Linked DNA regions of Homo sapiens: region 2 is linked to region 1. The links are contacts of gene promoters, found by promoter capture Hi-C in blood cells and fetal thymus (Javierre and others, 2016). All regions are on one chromosome and are shown on one strand. Each heading gives the region's core, a stretch centred on a gene start or on the middle of the fragment in contact. The rest is flanking DNA. Distances are from core to core; before and after follow the strand shown.

Region 1 (3,685 bases), core at 342-2,841:
GGGCCTTCATACCATCTGCTCTGGGTGGAGAGAGGGAGACCTTCTTGATGACCCGAGAGCCCAGTCCTCCAGGGAAGTGCAGCTGTCATGTTCTCCTCTTGGCGAGTGAGTGAATGTTTGTTCCTGGCTACCCTGAACGCAACAATGTGCAATTATTAAGTACTCACCCCCTTGCCAGACACTGCTGAATGCTCTACACACATTACCATCCAGTGTTCACAACACCCCTACAGGGTGAGGATCAGTACCTCTGTCTTCTGGATGAGGAAACTGAGCCGCAGAGAGGCTGATCACTCACACAAAGTCACCCAGCAAACACACAGCAGGTTCCTCTGACCCAGGAAACTGCTGTGCTAACCATTCTGCTGTGCTTCACTGTGTGGGATGGAGGCAGCAGCTGCTTGCCCATACATCGGGGACGAGGCTTTCCCAGAATGCCTGGAGTTTTCAAGCCATCCACTGCTCTCTGCGCCCCAGTCCAGGAGTGATGGAGAGCTATAGTCGGGAATCAGAGATTCCAGGTGGAGATGAAGGCTGACTGTTCCTCTGCTTCAGAAATAACCATTTGGTCAGAACTGAGGAGCATCAGAGGTTCAGCCAGACAAAGCACCTTCCTAGTCTCCAGATGAGGAAACAGGCCACTGGGGTGGGCAGCCTCAGTCATGTCAGATGTGGTGGCAGAGCTGGGACTCCTGGCCGTCCTCTCCAGCCCAGGGGCCACTGATCACATGATATTGCTCTGCTCATGCACCCTGCTTCTCCTCCACTCCACTCTGAGAGGTTCATCAACCAGTCCCTGGTGCCCATGAAGGCCAGGCCTGTGGAAGATGCTCAGTCAATATTTGTGCAGAGGATACAGGCCCAAGGTGCTCGGCTGGCCAGCTCTGTCCCCATCCCTCATCCATAAAAGCAGTGGTGGCTCCAGATTGCCACCTAGAAAGCCAGGGGCAGTCTGGTAGGAAGAAGGTGGGCAGTGTGGAGGAGCGGCCTAGAAGACGGTCAGCCAGCAAACCCACTCTAAGGTCCCATTAAGACACCCCCTGACCCTGCCCAAGAGGGACAACTGCAGCGGGGACAAATGATTCATCCCCACACTTGAGAAGCAGAGGGGCGGGGAAGGAGGAAAGGCTAGGGGTGTGTGTCAGGGTATTGCACACAGAGATGGTTGGCTTCAGTTCTGGGTTCTGAAGTCCCTCTGTGCCGCTGGCTGGGCAAGAGGTAAAGGACAGCTGGGCCAGGGGCCAGGCTGGGACTCCAGCAGGACTTCCGCGGCGAGGGGCGCTGGGGGGGCGAAAGGCTTTGGCGGCCCGGCCAGCAGCGCCCTCGGGGGTAAGGGGAAGGGAGGCTACGCGGAGAGGTGCCAGAGACAGCCGGTGCCCTTGCCCGCCGGCCGCCCGAAGTCCGGGTGGTGGGCGTGGCTGCCCCCGGCGGGTGGGTGGGGGCGGGCTCCGGAGCCTGGCTGCGGAGTGGGTGTCCAGGGCGCTCGCGGCTGGGGCGGCGCGGGGGGCGGGAAGGCGCGCGCCGAAGGGGTGGGGAGGAGAAGGGGCGGGCGGCTCGGGGGTGGAGCCGGGACCGCAGCGCCTGCCGCTCGCTCGGAGCTGTAGCCGCCGCTGCCGCCGCTGCTCTTGGCTCGGGGACGCGGGCGGGCGCTCCGAGAGGCTCTGGTGCCTGCGGCTGCTGCTCTCCTCCGGCGCCCGGGGCTGCGGCGCTCCGGGTCCCGGCCCCTGTCCCGGCATCTCTCGGGTCCCTGAGCCCCGGCCCCGGGTCCCGCGTCCGGCCGGAGAGAACGCACTCAGCTGCTCGAGCCGCCCCGGGCTCGCGCCCCCGGGCCATGAAGAGGGGCCCGTGAGGCGCGCGCGGAGTCGGAGGAAGAGGAGGGAGGAGGGAGGCCGAGGAGGAGGGCGCGGGAGGCGGAGGATGCCGCCGCGGCTGCTGCCGCCGCCGCCACCCGCGGGTCCCCGGCGACCCTGACTCCAGACCCGAGGATGGAGCCGGCGCTGGGCGCTGCAGCTGCTCCCGGCGCGTCCCCGACCAGGTATTGGCCGGGCCCCGCGGGCTCCGGGGCGGGCGGGAGCGGACACTCCGCCGCAGCAGCCGGGAGGGGCGCGGGCGCGGTGGGAGACGCCCCTCCGCTCGGGGACAGCAGCTACCGGCGGTGAGCGGAGGGGTGGCGGCGGCGAGGAACGGCGGCGTGTTGGGCGCAGGAAGGGGCTGCCGGGGCTGGTGGCCGGTGAGCGCCGCGATCACCTCAGCCCTCCCTGCCCCCATTCGAGGAGGGCAGCAAACTTGAGACGCGCGGTGGCCCCCGAGGCGCTTGGCTCCCCTCCGCTGCGGAGCGCACTCAGGGGCTGCTCCGGGCTCACCGTCCCACGACCCGCCTGGCTCGGGTCTGCGGAGGCGCCTTGAGACCCTGAGGTCCCCGCGCCCGCACCAACTTTCCAAACCCAGCTGCACCCGGAGGCGGGGGCGCCGCTCCCTGCTTCCTGCTCCCAGCCCTGGCCCGGCCTCCGCACCCAGACCGCTGCGATGAGCTGGGCCCCTGTGGGGCCGGAGCCGCCGGATGGTGCAGAGCCCACCACGGAAAGCCGGAACAACCCTCCCGCTCTTCTCTGGGTAGGACCCGGGGATCAGCCCCTCCCAGGCTCCAGGGACCCAGTGCTGGCTTTCGCGGTAACAGCCCAGAGTAACCCTAGCTGGGATGCTGGGCGTTAAAAGGCCAGGCTGCCTGAGGAAGGTAAGACCCGGGGGTCGTCCTGGAGTGGCACCTTGGCCTGATTTCAGGTGTGCCCCCTCCCCCACCCCGGGCCTGCCCTTTCACAGGACTGCCTTCCTCAGCTCTGGGGCCGGCTTCCTCTTGGTGGACTTAAAACTGCTCTTCGGCAGCGGACTCCCTAGGAAGGGCCACTCCTAGGGTCCAGGTGCCTGAAGACGGGCTTGGGCCGGCCATTGACAGGGAGCTGGAGGCTGGGGCAGGGGAGGTGGCTGTCCAGTCAAGGACAGAAATTCAGTCCAGCAACTTCTGGAGGGGTGGGAGGAGCTGGGGGCAGGCTTGGGCGCAGGAGTCAGGCACCCTGGCTGGGAGGAAGCTGCTTTGACCAGCACAGGGACGTCAGAGGCAAGCAGGTGGGAACGAGTGGGCCAGGTGTCTACCTCCAGAGGTTCCTCAGCCCCTTGCAGTGGGGCCTGCTGTCTCAGGCAGAGACCTTACCTGGGCAGGCAGTTCCCAGGCTCCTGTCCTCAGCAGTGGGGACACTTCCAGGCATCATGATGACCCTGTTTCTTTTTCAAAGTGCTTTCATCGTCATGACTCACACATCACATTCACCAGGGAGGTATCAGGCTTCCAACCTATTCAATTCCCCTCCCTACCGGGTCTTTAGGGAGCTGCTGGGGAAAGGAATGGGTGGATTTGCCCTTGAGCCTTGAACCCCTGCAGGAGGCCAGGAGCCTGGCATGGCACCTTTGATTTTCCTGTTGCCAGTCCCTCATCCTGGCGGTGAGCAGCCCTAGGCCAGGATGCTTCACAGTGATGGGGTGGGGAGGGGAGGGGCACCAGGGAGAGCAAGTCTCTGCTAATCATCCCCCAAACTCTGCTGGGTCTTCAAAATCATGGCCAGGTGCCACCCCCAGCCCCCTTCACTCAACACCCGGCTTCCCCATCTCAAAGCAGAAACGCATTTTCCCT
Region 2 (3,681 bases), core at 895-3,394, 240 kb after region 1:
GCTACATGAGTGCTGAGGTTCCCTTCCCATTATTGTCCGTATGGACCACCTGGGGATGGGGTCATCAGGTCCCTGGCCAAACATCCAGTCTGAGGTGATGCCCATTGGTGCCTGGAAACTGCTCAGCCCTCCTCCAACCCACCCCTGAAGGGGCAACTCAGAGTCCAACAGTCCAGGATGCTTTTAAACTCTTCCCCCAACCAGAAGGAGGGGCTCTGGACTTCTAGAGTGATGGTGATAGTAGCACAGAAGAGAGGACCGTATCCCTGACCAAGATCAGACCTGCAAGAACCAACCTGAACCCTCTCATTCAGTAGAACAGCCGTGGGACATAAGCAATAACATTGTGTGGTCAGTGACTCCACAGGCTGCAGCGTTGCTAAATATCCTGGGCCCACCTCCTCCCCTCATTTCTCCCAGCTGGGCTCAAACAGCCTCCTCAGATTCCTCAGCAGAGTTCCTCTTACCCACCAACATGCACTCAGTAATCCTCAAAAAACCATCATTGTCAGCATGGATGATGCCCCCTACTAATCAGCCCAGCCAACTGCTTCAGATCACCTTGACCTGTGGGCACATGAATTCCAAGACCTGGTCTGGCTCCTGGGAAGCCCCCCTTCCCAATGTCTCCCCCATCTCACTGAGTGATAGTCTCTTCTTGGCTTCTGTCCATCCTGGCTCGACCACATTTATTAGCTGTGGGGTCCTAGGTAAGTCATTAACTCCTCTGAACCTCTATTTCCCCATCCCCAGAAGGGGACAATTCTGCTTGCCTTACAGAGTCACTTGAGGATGTAATGAGCTGCCATTTAGAAGGCTCCCAGAACAGAGCATGGCAACAGGAGACTCTTGGCAGTCACTGGTTCCCTATAGTGTCTTCCCTTCCAAATTGCCAAAAGCAAGTGGCTTCCACTTGGCCCTGCTGGTGTCCCTCTTCTGGTTTCTAGGCAGGGCAATCCTGAAGGCCCCTCCACCCCACACATAGGCCCCTTCACTGTAAGTGGGATGAGAACTGAGCCAGACCCCACACAAGTGTCACCAGGACCTGTGCAGAGAAACTCATCAATTCCTACCTCTTTGCACAGTGAGGGACCTCAATCTCGTCCCTGCTGCCTCCCCCCGGGAAGAAAGACTGGGTCATGGAAGAATACCCAGGGGAGAGCGATGTTTGGGCAGCACCTAAAACCATCTTGCTCTGAGCCCCAGAAAAAGCCCCGGAGAGGCCTCCAACTACCGCTCCAGTGGCTGAAATTTCTCCTCTGCAGAAATAGGAATCACAAACAAAACCAGAACAGGAATACTTTCAAAACTCAGAGAACGAAATGTTCAGAACAGAGCGCAAAGCAGGTCCTGCTCCATGGAATGGGAAAGGAAAGTGCTATTCCTTTTTTAAAATTTTCTCCAAGCAAAACATAAGCAGTTTGGATTTCCCAGGCTTGGCATCCTGAACAGTCAGTGGAGTGTCTGCCTCTGCCACCTGCCACCTTAAAGGGTCCAAAAGACACAAAACTCAACAGGGTGATTTCCCAGTTCCCAGGACAGCCCCTCAGACTTTGTTCTCACACTGACAGATCCATTCTGTCCCGGTGGCAGTGCAGTGAGAAAGGGTAACGAGATTCTTTTTCTCATTTTGAACAGTTGACCAATAGAGGCTCAGGGAGGCAAAGTGACTTGCTCCTGGTGATCTGGCTAGTGAGTGCTGGGCTGGGATTTGAACCCATCACCACCAACTGGTAACTTTCAAATTGCATCCTTGGAGTTTTGGGGTCTAGGGGGAGGGAGAGGAGAAGGAGTTGCAGGGAAGAAGAGCAACCAGGTGTCAGGCTTCTTCTACTTCTCTTTCCTCTCGCTCGCTATAGTGATCACATACACAAAGAAGAACCCTTGAGGCCTGTCTGGAAAGCAAGAGGGATGGGCTGGGAGAAAGCTGGAGATATTCACACACGGGTTAATTTCTGTTCCTGTCACACATTAGGGCTATTTGTAACTGTTGGATATAAATTGGCCTCCACATAAGATTTCACTTGAAGAAGGGGATAAACAGCTTAAAAATAATTGAAAATCAGTGCACCCAGCCAAGTCTGTGGCTTGTGCCTACTGGGTGGGTTTGTGATGATGTGTGTTTTCTCTGCCATGGTGTACAGTGAAAACTCTCAAGTCTCCAAGAGGCTGCACAGTGTCAAATGCCAGGCATAATTGGGGTAGGGTGGGGGTGGGGAGGGAAAGGGAATGCCTCTGCTGAATTTGAATTAGAAACTTTAGCTATTATAAAATGGCAACAGTCCCGTTGGTACTGGCAACACTCAAGTGGCCACCTCCCACGACAGAGCTCTGGGGAAGGTTTTGGTCCTTGTAAAGTTTGCCCCTTGGTCTGAGAGGCGTGACTCTTCAGGCAGGGTAGCTGTTGATCCCATGCCAGAGTGTCTGACCTCCCGGCTGGGCTAAGAGGAGGAGACTGGTGCCAGCTAGCACTGAGCCTTCAAGCCCCGACCCTCAGGCATTCAATAACGGGAATAACGGGGTTTTCCCCCATCTAAGCAGAAAACGTCAGACTCCTTGGGCACATTGGGTCAGCCTTGGGCAGATGGTCTGGCTGGGCAACTTCAGAGGGAGGCGGAAGTTTAAGGAAGTCTCTGAAGTCGCTCACACATCTGCAGAGGCTAAAACAGCAATTTCCTTTTGGTGGCTGGACATGGTGTTCCCAGAGGAACACGTGGCCCCCAGGTTCTCGTGGGCAGCCCCTGTTGTCCCCGATCTTTTCTTCTGCTGTTTGGCCTGATCAGAGCCAGAACAAACCTGCCCAAGAGCTGACGGTTCACACAGCAACAGATGCTGCCCAGCCCCCACCAAGGGCCAGGGCCACCAAGATGAATAAGATATAGCTGTGCCCTTGAGGAGCAGGGAGCATGCCAAGAATCCTTGCTTCATCACCAAGTGGGTTCCGGAAGTAATGACCATAGTAGCCACTGTAATTTATTGAGAGCTTACTGTGTGCCAAGCACTCTACATACATTACTTCATTGTATTACCATTATGAGCCACTGGAAAGTGAATCCTGTTTCCAGATCCATTTAACAGATGAGAAGACTGAGGTTCAGAGAGGTTAAGCCAAACATTAAGTGCCATAGGAGAGACTTGAACCCAAGCCAGATGCCTAAGCCTTTATCCTTGACCAAGCTCTGCTGCCCATACCCAGTGTGTCTGGAGTAAGTGGGACCCCAGCCCCACCAAATCTATATTCCAGGGTCCTTGCCTTAGTTTCTCTACACCATACATTCTCAGTGGGGACGATATTGCCCCCTAACACAGCAACAATTTGTTTTCTGTGTCGGGGAACAGAACAAAAAATATTACTTGTTTTACATATAAAGCATACATACAGTATATAACAGATATAGAGCTTACCTGTAATATTAAAAGTTTATGGGGAGTGCAATTAGGAGCAAGTGTCTGGTGCATAGTAGGTGTTCAGGAAACAGCCATCCCCTGCTTCACTGCCTGCTGGAGCCACACATGAATTGGTCTCAATGGGAGCTTTTGTGTATAGGCCTCAGTCTGCCTGGGCCCAACTCCACCCTCAGGCTTTTGGCCCTGGCAGGCTCCATGCCCTAGTCAGCATCCGATAGCACCCAAGCTCACCCTGAACATCCCTGGTGCCTCCTTGGAGGCTCCCGCTCCCCA

The links. Contacts are between HindIII fragments. The CHiCAGO score rates a contact against its expected background, and 5 or more counts as called.
Region 2: a fragment that was not itself captured here is called in contact with the fragment with the promoter of CHST1 in region 1 in 2 of 17 cell types (M1 macrophages and M2 macrophages); the score reaches 5.3 in M1 macrophages.

Annotation. Positions count from the first base shown.
Region 1 is chr11:45,663,528-45,667,212 of GRCh38, reverse strand. It overlaps CHST1 (carbohydrate sulfotransferase 1), which reads left to right and starts at 1,591. Exons shown (of 4, transcript NM_003654.6): 1 at 1,591-2,035. The HindIII fragment of the contact is 4,208 bases long and covers 1-3,685 here.
Region 2 is chr11:45,422,379-45,426,059 of GRCh38, reverse strand. No RefSeq gene overlaps it. Among named protein-coding and RNA genes, the nearest start is that of LINC02687, 53 kb to the right of the region's middle. RefSeq lists an enhancer at 2,650-3,150. The HindIII fragment of the contact is 5,858 bases long and covers 1-3,681 here.